Regions from separate parts of the Homo sapiens genome. Here all the other regions are linked to region 1. Evidence: promoter capture Hi-C in human tissues and cell types (Jung and others, 2019). All regions are on one chromosome and are shown on one strand. The core of a region is centred on a gene start or on the middle of the fragment in contact, and the rest is flanking DNA. Distances in the headings are between cores, read along the strand shown. Region 1 holds the start of CSMD3 (CUB and Sushi multiple domains 3). Region 2 overlaps CSMD3 (CUB and Sushi multiple domains 3). Region 3 overlaps CSMD3 (CUB and Sushi multiple domains 3). Region 4 has its middle 780 kb from the start of CSMD3. Region 5 overlaps CSMD3 (CUB and Sushi multiple domains 3).

Region 1 (2,714 bases), core at 122-2,621:
GACAAAGCTGGCCAGGGTAATGCTGTGGTGCACGGGACCAAACCCATTATTTGTGCACAGTGCAGGGAGCTGCAAACTCAAGTTGGGCAGTCCTCTAGACTAAGCCTTGTTGATAGACGCTCACGCCCATGATAGCCTGAGGCAGTTAAATGGAGCCACACGCAACAGCAATATCCTGTTTCAGAACTAGCGCTGTGGCACTCCCCACTGCTGAGAGGGGACCAGATTCCCGAAAAGGTCAGATCACCAATCAGTTGCCTAATCTAAGGAACTTGTTCATTGAAAGATTTGGGCCAGGACCGTGGTCGAAAAAAATCAAGGAGCACGACATACTGGTCCCGGGGACACAGCTCCCCTGACACCAAGGGATGGCAAAAACAGGGTCCCTTATACATGCGAAGGAAGAACGGGCGGCTCGGAGACGGCCAGTAGATGGCGCAAGAACTCTTCCCTTGTGCAATCTTAACCCTTGCGTGGTGCATGGGGGAAGCAGATCCAGATGTATAGATACATACATTTTTCGTTTTGAAAGAAACCTCCTATTTACATATTTGGTACCGATTCAGAATTAAGACAAATGGGTTTGTTCTAGATAACTACCACAGATAAAGTAGTTTAACTGCGGCACACACAAACTGAAAAGGGGGTTGGGAGGATGAAAGGGAGAACTATTTGAGGAAACGACATTGACTTCCCTCCCCACCCCACCCCCGCCCAGGCCACGGATGAAATCCGTTTCCCGAATCATAAAAACCCGGTGAAGGGTTTACACGTAGTTATTTGAGTATGTAAATACATGTGTTCAAATACATTCTTTTCCGTGTGAAGGCAGAATTTATTGAGAAAATTCTCTGTGATTTCCTTTTTCAATTAAATCACAGGATAATAAATGGGAGAAGCCTGCCTGAAATATACTGCAACTACAGTAGTAACACATGTCCCATTATAACGACGTGGGCATCGATGGAGCCCGATTCATTATCGTCACGGTTTCCCCAAAAGCAACACAGATCCTCCGATTAAAATATTCCTTTGACATGCTTCTGTATTCGCAGCCTGCAACGGAGAGCTCACTAACATTATTTCTTGGGCTGCTTTTACAGGCAGAATTGATCTATTCGGGGAAAAAAAGCAAGCCCCTTAATTTCAAATATTGTGTGGAGTTTATCAGAGAGCAGAGGTGGGCTTTAAGAGGCTCACTAGTGGTTTCTGGTGGTTGCTATAACGAGCCAGAATTGGGGTAGATTTTGGTGGAGGGGAAAAAACGCACAAGAAAAGACAGAATCCAGAGTAGCGGAGACTTTGTGCCCCCGTTGGAGAGATGGTTGAGTCCTCGTCAAGGTTGCTGTGGTATCCCAGAAACACCATTCACTCCGAGCTGTGACCGCGCACCAACAACAGCAACAACTCCACTGCGCCGGGCTGAGGAGCAGGAATTAGGAGCTCGCGAATAATATGAAAGGGATCCGCAAAGGGGAAAGCCGAGCAAAGGAATCCAAACCCTGGGAGCCTGGCAAGCGAAGATGCGCTAAATGTGGCCGCCTAGACTTCATCCTGATGAAGAAAATGGGGATTAAAAGTGGATTTACGTTTTGGAACCTCGTCTTTTTATTGACGGTGTCTTGTGTGAAAGGTAGGTCTGCTTTGGGGGTCCCCTCCGCTTTGGATGGAGGTGGGCTGACTTGTAGATGGAGAGAGGCTGGCAGCTTACTTTGCAATTTGCACCGATAAAATAATCTGATAATACTAAAGGAGTTGATTCACAGCTCGTTCTCCCCCCCTCAGATAGGAAATGCATTTTGCTTGCCAGATTTGGCGTTCAATGCGGTGATTGAGCTTGTGCTCAATAAATATTCTTGCAGTATGCTCAAACGAATACGTGAGTTGGTTAGTATAGCCTCTAACTAGTGGATATCCAGGCAGAATTCCTCTGCAAGACTTTTCTTAGTGGTGAGGATTACCTTGATTTCTTGTCAGATCACTAGGGCTTGAGGCTTTGGGTGGAATATATATATTAAAGACGCTGGTCTAAATGCTTTTTAACCCTTTCAGGGAAGAAAGTTATCGACGTGCTAGGAATGTGTTGATTTTAAATGCATTAGGGCACAGGGATCTTCCAAGCACTGCCACATCAACATGAATGTCTGCATGCATATGTATGTAAATTGGGCTTCTATGCAATGTTAAATGTAGGGGAGCTTCCCTAGGACCTGTGGTAGAGGTTTGGCAAAAAATGAGGCTTTCGAAGGGTCTGAAATGCCATGAAGTGTAAAGAACCACCTTAAGGGATGAATGAGGTAGGAGGAAAGTCATTAGCTGACGACCAAAAGAAAATCCCCAGCAAGTCTCAGCGTTCAGACAGGTAGAGTGAGTGTCACATGCACAGATAGGGGAGGGGGTAGGTGGGATGTAAAAATGTATTCCCAAGCAGGAAGGCAAGGGACAGTCAGGATCATGGGAAAAAGAGCTGTCCTTAGGGAGAAAATAGATCCATAGCTCTCTTCCACAACTTCTCCGGCACCCTGCTGCCCATTAATTGCTGCAAAGAATACTCAGGAGGTGTTTATGACTCATGCCATCATTTTTTGAACAATCACCTCTCCATACTCATGGCAGCTCGAATAGACGCTATGGATGCCGCTTTCAGTGAAGCTAGTTTCAAATCCCGGGTGTCTGTGTGTCGCGGGGGGGCGGGGGATCGCGGGAAAGGGGGT
Region 2 (2,810 bases), core at 270-2,769, 710 kb after region 1:
ACAATTTCAAATTGCTTATACTCCATCATCATTGACCACTCAAAATCAGCTGATAATCGTGTTTCACACTGTATTAGGAAAATAACAACAATCAGTCAAGAATATTTCAGCTTTTTTCAAAACTGGTACTATCACTACTCTTCTATTGTTCATCCTTCCTGTTAAATGAAAGATTGGCCCCTCCTCCCTCACCCCTGCTCTAAGAACACTCTTGTTCTTTTGCTCTGGATCTCATGCCTTTTCACCTTCTCATTCCTGCACTCTCATTCACTTTTGGTGAGAGTGTACTTTGACAAAATCATCTGGAGATACAGTTTTGCAATATATTAAAACAAACAGAAAAAGTACATAACTTTTGATTCAAAATTTTACTTTCAAAAACTTGTTCCACAGAAATATTCAGCTTAACAAAAATAAAAATGTCAGTTTTTGAAGCATTATTTGTACTATGTAAAATATATATATGTGTGTTTGTATATGTATGTGTATATATGTATATGTAACTCTTAAATTCCCTCAGTTTGCTGATGTCTATTATGTAATGCAATTTTAAAAGTTATTTTAATTTTTAAAAATGAATAATAATTTGTACATATAGATATTGTATGGTGTCCATAATTGCCGAAATAATCAAACAAATATCAGAAGCAGAACTTTACTTATTTGTTTTAAATAGGAGAAATGGCATGCAAATTTATTAATGTGCACGTGGTGAGAACCACAGAGTGATTACTCCCCATTCCTCAATGGAGTTCAGAAACTCATATTCCTTCTTGAAGTTACAGAAAGAATGGGGGCTTGTATCATGGCAAAATACATTATGGGAGGAGGAGAAGAAGGGGCTTGGCTAGCAAAGGTGGTCTTGTTATGTAGAACTTTACTTGTGACACATTTTTGTTCAAAACAACAATAACAGAATATAGGTATGAATAAGGCTGAAAGAGTAAAACTGTTAACAGTCTTCGTTCTCAAAAAGTAGAAATATAGGAGGAAGTTTTGGTTTTGTATATGTCCATTTTGTTTCTAACAATTAACCTCTATTGATATTTACATACATACGTGTATAGATATATAACTTATTTTAATTCTTTATTGTTTTTAGTAAAATTATAAGCATATAAATTACATCTAACTCATATTTTTTTTGTTCAGTGTTTTGGAACTTTATGTTACCTCTGTTTTTATTGTTCAATTTCCTAAGCTATTCATCTAAATAAATTTACTTGAAAAATTTGGTTGTCATAATCAGTTTACTGTCTTGAGAGCACTTTATCTAATCTTAATGAAGGGGAGTTAGAAATCTAGCTGACAAAGCTTTAATTCTTCCCAACAATCTGCATTTTCTATCACATGACTACCCCTAATTAACTATAGTGTTAATGCCTTTTGTCTTTTATGATAAACAACAAGAAAATGCCTGTTGGAAAAGGAAATTAGCATTACACCAGATAATTTCAAATTGTTGCCAATGTAACACAAGAGTTTACAGTCTGGAAAATATGATAAGTCAAATTTTAGACACTAAGATTTAATTATTTGACTTTTTCAAAATTACGCTATGTTTTTTGGTTAATGAAATTACTTCACATAGAATGAATTCACATTTTAAACAGTTTAAAAATGCCATTTAGAATCCGACAGTATTTTACTGTTCCACTTCATTTTGAATAAGATATGGGTAAAATATACTTATTGTAAAAAGTAACATAAAATAGATCAATAATCAATCCTAGATCACAGTAATTGTACTTGTAAAATCACAGATAGTATACAATGACTTTCATATAAAAATGGAAATATTAAGTTTTGATTTTATTCTTTTTAATTAGATATATATATAGGCTGATGGTCAGTATTTTTTAAAAGCCAATTTGCAAACTGAGAAAGAAAATTATGCCATTTAAACTGAAGTCATTAAGAATCTTGAAGCAGTGTGTAACACCCTCCAAGAATAGTCCTTGGGGTTTAAATGCTCACTCACCCTCTTTGTTAGTTTAATTCAACAGAAAATATCTTGTTCACACACTAGACAGAGTTGGAAAGGAGCCATAGAAGATTATGTCCACTCAATAAAATAGACCCTTTATGTTTATGTTGCTTTGCTCATAATCTCATATCTATAGCACTACAACCAATTAATTGCAGTATATTCAGTTTGTGGAAAATCAGACGCAGTTCATGACTTATCTTTTTGATACATTTTTGTTGAGAACTTTATAACTCATCAAAACTTCCCTTAACACAATATATGAAATGTTTACTGTATATGATACAAATCAGGAAAATTCTATAATTATTCAAAATAATTATACATTTGTATAGTTCCAGAAAAATAATAGATTTTAACAGCATATGAGATTTTTTAATATAGTCTGTATTTTTTGTTGTTCAGAAATAAATACCTGAAGAATGAGGCTAAATAAATTTAAGAAGCATAGTCATTTTTGTCTTTATTTTTTAGAATTCTTTGCTTGGTCATGAACTATATTGAGAAATAAAATGAGCTTTAATCAGTCATTTTCTCTTGAATCATATTCCCATTGGTTCTTATATTTACTAATTTGATGTAATATCATTTTGTTGCTTAGTGTTATTGATCAAGCATTAAATCTAATACATTACATCAATAATCAAATTTTCCTTTTTTCCGTATCTTTTTAAAAATTTAATGACGCATCTATAGTATTTGGATTATCTTTCATTACGTTGTTGTTATAACTTTGCAAATAAAGTTATGAGAAAAGGAAGAATTTCAAAATAGGAAAGGCTAAAATCCTGTTGGTTGGATGAGTAATGTCTCTTCTTCCAAA
Region 3 (2,700 bases), core at 53-2,552, 560 kb after region 1:
TTTCACTTCTCAATCTTAAATATGAGCTTTTGTGTATTTTTTCTTATTTAGAATTTTGAGAGATCTGATTCAGCTAATTTGCCTGTCAACTTATTAGGCTAAAGAAATTATTTCTTGGAGTTCCTGTTATGAAAAGTCTTTAACCTGTTTATGGGCATCAAAAGTTTCTTAAGTGTCATTCAACTTGTTTCAGTGTGGCAGATAAAGGATGGATTCATTTTCTTTTGCCATCCAGTGTCTACATAATTTAGGACAAATGTATTTGTTCAATGTAAACCGAAGAGTGTCTGAGACAAGTCTCAATTAATTTAGAGGTTTATTTTGTCAAGATTGAGGATGTGCCCAAGAAAATGAGACACAAGCCACAGTAGGATCTGTGGTTCACACGCTTTCCAAAGGGGATCTTGAGATCTTCAATAAATAAAGGGAAAAGAGTGGGAAGGAGGGGAAAAGAGGAAAGCAAAGAAAGTAGAGTAGGTAGTGAAATAAGGGGACACATTCCTATGAGGCTTTAATGAGCTTTTACAGAATCCATGTGCAAAGGAAGCTTGTAGGGAAACAGTCATTTATGCATTGTCATGCTCAGTAAATCTGCATTTTTCTCAAGGGTGGGCAAGGGATGATTTCTAGTCTTATCTTTGTCTCTTACCTGCAAAGAGAAGCTGTTAATTTACATTGTCAGGGTGAAGGAAGCTACCTGGGGAGACATGTGGTCTTGTATCTTGTTGCTGGTTAGTAACAAAAGGAAAGGCAGATTTTTGCTTGAGACTCAGTTTCCAAGCTTAATTTTTCCTTTTGACATAAAGACTCTGGGGTCCTGAGATTTTCTTGTCCTTTCACATCTGTATAGCTCTGAATGATAGTTTTATGCTAAGGCTTCCCTATTTCTGATTTCTTTTTGATTTTCAGAATTTTTTCTTAGATTGATATAATTATACCATTCTACCTACCAGTCTCCCAGAAAAAGGAATGAGTAAAATAAACTCAATTAGGGATCAGGGACCTTGACAGTTGACATTCTGTACAATATTATGTTTGTTCCTGGAATTAATCAATAATATTTTTTAAAAATATTATTATTTTGCATAGAGAAATAGACTCTCCTGTAAATAAGTGTTTCTCATATCCTAGGATTCACTGACCCAATTCCCAGCAGTAGTCTCCTAATCGGGAAGAATTTGTTCCTTTTTCTCTTTCCTTTATTTCCCTTTGTAAAGGTCTTGAATGCCACTTTAGGGGAATATTCTACTTGTTGTTAAGCAGGAAAAAGTTTCTAATGAAACCTCATTATTTTGGGAAACGGTTGGCTATTATGCTGCCTTCATATCACCAAGGATTTGTTAAGCCCTTCAGTAAAATAAAAAGATTGGAGTGCAGAAAACAGTAAATCTACCTAAAAAGAACCTGTTTCAAGTTACTTTAAAAATTGCTTAGCAGCATCATTTTCATACCAAGGGCTACAACCTGTTCACAATAATTCTTAACAATTCATAGAAACATATTTATAGGATTGTAAGAAAATGTTAACACTTTGGTTGTTAGATACATTTGAAAGAAATGCAATTTAATGTCTTTAAAAAATGCTGTTTAGTCCAGATTTTTAACATGCTTTGTCTTTACCATGCCTTCCATTATCTTGTATTAATGAGCCTTTAATTCGTTTAAAAATAAAAAACAGTACTTTCTAATATGACTCCTCAAAATGTTGTAAGTCCCCAAATATACACCCTCAGGACACCCCATACTTTTATTTTGTAGCAGTTGTTTCATGATTATATAATCAACTTGTTTGGGTTGTTTCCTGTTTGTCTCTCTCCCTGTAACGTGAGGTGCATGAAGGAGGGCCTGGTTCACAACTGTGTGATTATTCTCATAGAGTTGAGTGCATCATAGTTCTTTAATACATAGTGTAGGTTGAATGAGTGACTGAATATATACATAAATGAATAAATGTCTCTGCATTTAAACTAAATGGATATTTCAAACCATGTTGTACATAATAAATATATACAATTGTATTTGTCAAATAAATATGTAGAAAGTGAAAACAGCTACATTTTTAAGGATTTTATAGTATATGAGAAAAGTTATAAGACTGGACTTCCTGTAGTCTTGCATATAGGCTTACCATATTACTCTCTTAAATCCATCTGTATATGGCAGCTGGATCGATCTCCTTAAAGCTAGACATAGGTAAGTCAAGTGCCTTTTGGATATCCACAAAGTATCCCCCCTTAGCTTGACAAAAAAACAAAAATCCAACAACTGTAGTAGCCTATCATATATGACCCCCTTGAATAGGCATTTATTTACATCCCCAGCACCATCAAAAGAATTGCCCCAAATCCCAACGACCTTAGATGTTCTGGGAATTCCAGAGTTTTTCTGTATTCAATGTGCTGTTTAGTGTGTCTTTCCCCCTGCCTAGAAGTCCATTTTGAATTTCTATTCTAAGATTATGCATCCTGACTTTTCGAGATTCAGTTCTGACATCACCACCAGGATGCCTTCTCTAAAATCAGGGTAGCGAAAATGTCTATTCTTTTATGGTTCCATAACTCCTGATTACTTTTATCTTAGTACTTATAGGCTATTATTACAAGGGCCTGTTTGTATCCATTTAAGACTGCAAGCTCCTTAAGCGTAGGATCCCACCTTATTCTTTTTGCATTGAAACATTCTAAGTCAATGTTTAGTGTT
Region 4 (2,700 bases), core at 20-2,519, 780 kb before region 1:
TTGTTTTAACATACGTAAACATTGGTTAATATTTTAGTAATGTTATATGTGGTTTTGACATATGGAAGAGCTAAGAGAAGCCTAGGATTGTCTAAGAAACCATTCTCACTATTCTTGGAATAAATTGCTATATTTCATTTTAATGTAAAATTTTAATTATGATATATATATATAAAGTGCAAGAATCATAAAAAGGCACATATACTTATCGATTTGATAAGTATTTGAATATACCGCTGAATTAGAACCCAAATGAAAAGACAGATTTTTAGCAGAATACTGTGAACTCTCTTTCTGCCTACTTTTAGTCACTACCTTCCTCTGTCAGGATAGATAAAATTCTGAATTCTTAAAATTTAAAACAGAGTTAATCTTTCTGTTTTGATACTTTAAATTATATCAATTAAATTATAGTGTATGTACTCTTTTGTGTCTGATTATTTTTCTCTCAACATCATTTTTTGGAAATTTTTGATAACTTCTACAAAATCTGAACATTATGCATACTCTATAATTTAGTAACTAATACATATTTGTATATATACAACAAGGCGCACACATATTCATCAAAGATGAGAAAAAATATTGAGAAGCACTATTCATAACTGTCTCAAACTCAGAATAAAATTCTATTAATAGTACAATTTACTATCCTCATGTAATGAAACATTATACAAAAATAAAAAAATCACACGAAACAATATAGATGTCTGACAAAATAATGTTGAGCAAAATAACTCATATTTCTCTTTAACTCTTGCCATTGGTGACATTGTTATTAAGAATTATGAGTTAAGAATTAAGCTTTTTTTTGGCGATTAAGCAAAATTATCCAGGAGGCCGCTGTCATATGCTCTATGACATTGAGTTTCAGAAAAATATGCAATTTTCTGGTAGTCACCAAAAGTAAAATAGCTCTTTGAAATTTTCTGATGGTGTGCATTTTAATGTAGATGATAAAAGACAGCTAGATTAGATAAATATCAATTTATCAGAAGAGAGTGAGAAAGAGAAAGAGATTATAAGTCTAAAAGTTCATAAACACCATTTCTCCAGGTAAATATAATTTAGGAAAAACCCAATAGCTTTCTATTTAAATATTTATTTCATCAAGAATACTTATATACCATTGTCTGAAGTTTCAAATACTCTTTATAAACATTTAAATAAACACCTGTGCTACTAATTTTATATGTAGAATTGTCTTACTCATACAAAATTATAATTCTTACATTATTTTGTGATTCTAGTGAATGAAAATTGACGATAACTATTATGTATGCCTTTAATAGTGATAGAACAGTGAGTTTGCATTTTTCAACATAAATGTATAATAATAGAATAATTTGGAATATGCAAAATAAGCTGTAGCTTCACACAAATTATAGAAAAATTTGTGAGTTAATGAAAATTAGCATTGGAAACAGCATGTTTGAACATCTGCATTTTTATTTATGTTATGTAAATTTTCTTTTAAAACAAATGTTATATAGATTTTTATTTTATAACCAATTTTTACAAAATGAATTTTCAATTGTATCACCTTTTAACTGAAAAAGTAAAATATATCTACCAATATAGCAATAGGTTTTCAAAACAATTAAAATGCCACTGAAACAAAATGATTAATTAGTATGATACATGATAAGCCAGGGAAATAAATAATGAAAAGAATAATCTTTAAAATCTTGTAAAGTACACTGAAAAACTGCATAGAAGAATATCATTTGCCCAGAAACATGAATGCTCTTTACACATATAATGTGCTTTGTCCCGTCTTACAAAATATTACTACAGAATTACTGAGAAGAGATATATTTGTATATACCCTAATGAATGTAAAATAAGCAAGAGGGAGAGTCAATGGCAGTGACATTTCTCATGGTATGAAAAAAATAAATTGCTTGAATACAAGGAAACCCTAATAAAATGTTTTCCTCAGGTTAATAATCAGAAATATGCATACTACGAAGAAACGAGGAAAATGCTGGCACAGACCATGCATGCTCCTGAAATGCCTTGAAAGTGAAAGTTACAAATATTCTTAAAAATGCTAATGAAAAAGGCTCTGGGCTCAATTCTGTATACTTGACCTATCCCATTATAAATGGCATTTTAGTAAAGGCAATTTTTGTACATGGAATTCTTGCTTAAAGCAGAGCACTAGATAGAAAATAACACAGAAAGTGAAAACAAATCAAATGAGAGTTGTTTGCAGCTTTTAGCGTTTTATCTCCCAAAAAAGACAGAATTTGAATTTGTTTCCTTGTATTACTTTTTTCTCTGTCTTCCTTCTTCTCACCTTTCTCCCTCTTTCCCTCCCTCTTTCCCTCCACCCCCATTCATTCTGTGCTACATTCATAACAAATTGTATTTGTCATCACAGGTTACTAGAGAGAGTAATTTCTGGATTTAATTTCTGGACCTAATTTCTGGAATAAGAAATAAAGTTAGCAGGTCAAGCAAGTATCTGATTACAGAAAACATTTTATATCATAATAAAGTATTTGTACTTCGAACTCCAGAAAATACAGAGCCAACGTTTACTTAAAATGTGAGGGTTAAAAGGTTACATTTAAAAAAATATATAATTCCAAATAATATGTATAGATATTCTCTTTTCTAGGAGATGAAGCTTAATTCTTATCCTCTAGAGCGGAGGCTGAATTTAGTGACTAGTTTCCAAAGAATAGAGTATGG
Region 5 (2,797 bases), core at 283-2,782, 980 kb after region 1:
AAGAATGTGGAAACTGCTATAAACTACGATGTGGGAAACTACCGTTTGTAAGCATGCTATGGGTAAACAGAGGAGGAACAGCTAAGGCAGGCTGGTGGCTGATTTGAGAAATGGGGATAACCGTGACAGAAACATTGATCTGATGAGATGGCACATGACCTAAGTCTTAATGAATGTGTAATTGTTAGCTGGAGAAGGACATTCCAGCCAAAAAGAACAACACAAGGAAAGATGTAGAGATATGGCATATGTTTTCTGAAAGGGACTATATATTTTTATCTCTAGTTGAAGAGCAAAGTACTAGTCAGGAACTAATATGCTTGAAACTGGTAAAGAAGGCAGAGACCAGATTATGAAGTGCCTGGTATGCCATGTTAAATCAATTCAACAAATGCTTATTGTGTTCTCACTTTGCTTCAGAGAATTATTTGCTAGGCTGAGGCTACCTAATGCCCAATGAAACAGAAATGCTTAATTGTTCTTGTTAGTATATTGTCTAATTGAGTAGTCAGATAACCCAGGGATAATATTCACCTGGTACTTAAGGGCACAACAATTTTCAGTTGTTAGAATTTTGAAACATTTACATGTACTGACAAATAGCCACTTTTCCAATCTCTAAAATTGCTCCATAATTCTCTGGCCGCTGGCCCTTCCCCAGCCTAGCAACACTTTTGACTCTTCTGTACCCACGTCATACTGATTAAATATTTTGAGAATTACCTTGTAAACATAATTGAATAAACCCCCCCCCCCCACACACACACACAACACACACACAATTATGAGCACAAATTTGGCTAGTGAGCATGAAGGGTGAGGAAAAAAAACCCAAAGTATAATGAGAAAGGATAACAGGAGGATCAAATTTAGATTAGGGAGATGAGTGAAAACTGCAGTATGCTGAAAATCGAAGGATGAGAAGGAGGTTGAAATGTATCTCCTGTACCATAGTAACTAATTAAGCTATTTTGCAGGGGATTAACAAAACCCGTTGGACATTTTAGTTAATATTATTTGTGGCAGGGAGAGAGTGGTTGTTTCAGAGGTATGGATGAGAAACAATGAGGGGATTAATTTAGGCAGTGGAGAAGGGAGGAAGCATTCATTGTTTGTAGAAGATAGTAGGGATGAGTGAGATCTGTGTATGTGCCTGAGTATGTGTGTATGTCAATATTCTAGTGTAATTCATGGTCTCTAATGATGGCAGCAGGCACATGAGTAGAAAGGAGCAAGTGATATTACAAAGACCTTGAGAACTGCTGTCAAAGCCCTTCCTGATGTCTAGACTTGAGATATGAATTCAGTGTCCAATCACCAGCTTTGCAGTTTCAGAAATTCAGTGTTGTCAGCTACCTCAGAAAGTATTCACACTTCAGGAGACAGGTTCACATTGTTTTCCACTCATCAAACCCAAAGGGACTGATTTATAAATCACAATACCAATTTCCAACTCTTTTTGTGAGAGAATATCTGGCAAGCTTGGCAGTCTTGGCCTTTTGCCTAGAACGCTTCATGTTGGTGGAAATAACTACTCCTTGGACAAAAGCATATAATTACTTTAAAAATTATAGTCACAAGCTTATTGACATTTAAGGATACCAGGAAGTAGTGTGATGTACTAATGAAAAGTTTATTTCAAACTACTACAGCTGGAAGAAATGTTCTTATCTACTCTAGAGACATTTCTTTATTTAGAATTCACTAAACCAACTTTACCCAAGACTTTGGGAGGGTAAACTAACATATCTGGGTGAGAGGACAGGGACATAAAGTCCAGCAAAATTTGGAAACATGGGGTTTAAAAAATATTTTAGGCTTATTTTCTCTAAGGATGCTAAGTGTCTTTAATAAGCCAATATGGATATTTTCTCTATCTCTGTTTCTCTGTGTGTGTGTGGGTGTGAGTGTGTGTGTGTGTACGTATTTGAAGGGGACTGTCTTTACAAAGTTGCAGCTCAATGAAAATACTGCGCTAATATGTCATCTCTTTGTGATCAAAGGTTGTATTTTTTTATTATTGAAAAAATAAAAGAGCTTGACAATTTTTTGCACATTAAAACAAATCTCAATATGTATTTACTGAAAATGCAAACAATTGAATTAATCAATGAATTAAGTAATCCTTTATCCTGGGTGAGGAGGACATTTTCTATGTTTCTTCCAGATACTTATTTACCATATTTATTTACCAAGGTATTAGCTTAATCATTAACCAAATGTTTGCTTAGTTGATCACTCCTCCATTCTTGGAAAAAATGTGGGTAAGCATCAATCTTGACACAGTCCTAAGCATTTAGACATTCATATGCAGCTGGGAGAAGCTAGTCCAGGAGTTATCTTACAGCCAAGATAAGGAGTATGGAGCCACAAACTCTGGACTGACACTTTGAGATTAGAAAGGAATGAGGAGGCCTAAATGCTTCATTTTAGCCTCTTCCCAGTTCCTCTTCACCTATTCCCTGCTCCTAAATTCCTCAACTTTACTCTGGCCTGGCATTCTCTACATTTTAGACATTTAGATAAAACTCTGGATAAGATGAGAAATTACATTTCTTGAACATTTAAATTTGTGATATGAGAACTGTATCATTTCATATAAGAGCTTTAAAAGACATTTCTCCGTAGAATTAACTGAAATATCATTCTGCAGGAAATATGGGTCACAGAGCATGCTGTAGGATTCTAGTAGCATTATACCTTTTAAGAATTCAGTTTAGACTGTAAATTCTTGATAAAATTGTACAGGCTTACTATTTCTGAACAATCCAGTTCTCTCACTCGCCTGTGAATTCTC

What was found. Contacts are between HindIII fragments. The study calls those that stand out against the background at their distance.
Region 2: a contact is called between a fragment that was not itself captured here and the fragment with the promoter of CSMD3 in region 1, in 2 of the 25 tissues and cell types used here (mesenchymal stem cells and spleen).
Region 3: a contact is called between a fragment that was not itself captured here and the fragment with the promoter of CSMD3 in region 1, in 2 of the 25 tissues and cell types used here (H1 embryonic stem cells and pancreas).
Region 4: a fragment that was not itself captured here is called in contact with the fragment with the promoter of CSMD3 in region 1 in 2 of the 25 tissues and cell types used here (lymphoblastoid cells and mesenchymal stem cells).
Region 5: a fragment that was not itself captured here is called in contact with the fragment with the promoter of CSMD3 in region 1 in 1 of the 25 tissues and cell types used here (dorsolateral prefrontal cortex).

Annotation. Positions count from the first base shown.
Region 1 is chr8:113,435,596-113,438,309 of GRCh38, reverse strand. It overlaps CSMD3 (CUB and Sushi multiple domains 3), which reads left to right and starts at 1,371. Exons shown (of 71, transcript NM_198123.2): 1 at 1,371-1,633. The coding sequence starts at 1,456. RefSeq lists enhancers at 1-437, 450-499, 2,277-2,714. The HindIII fragment of the contact is 9,532 bases long and covers 1-2,714 here.
Region 2 is chr8:112,726,636-112,729,445 of GRCh38, reverse strand. All of the region lies in intron 13 of CSMD3 (CUB and Sushi multiple domains 3), which reads left to right. Among named protein-coding and RNA genes, the nearest start is that of MIR2053, 85 kb to the right of the region's middle. The HindIII fragment of the contact is 5,790 bases long and covers 1-2,810 here.
Region 3 is chr8:112,880,278-112,882,977 of GRCh38, reverse strand. The region is part of intron 10 of CSMD3 (CUB and Sushi multiple domains 3); the gene reads left to right. Among named protein-coding and RNA genes, the nearest start is that of MIR2053, 240 kb to the right of the region's middle. The HindIII fragment of the contact is 4,683 bases long and covers 1-2,700 here.
Region 4 is chr8:114,211,872-114,214,571 of GRCh38, reverse strand. No RefSeq gene overlaps it. Among named protein-coding and RNA genes, the nearest start is that of CSMD3, 780 kb to the right of the region's middle. The HindIII fragment of the contact is 5,366 bases long and covers 1-2,700 here.
Region 5 is chr8:112,457,319-112,460,115 of GRCh38, reverse strand. All of the region lies in intron 32 of CSMD3 (CUB and Sushi multiple domains 3), which reads left to right. Among named protein-coding and RNA genes, the nearest start is that of MIR2053, 180 kb to the left of the region's middle. The HindIII fragment of the contact is 3,506 bases long and covers 1-2,797 here.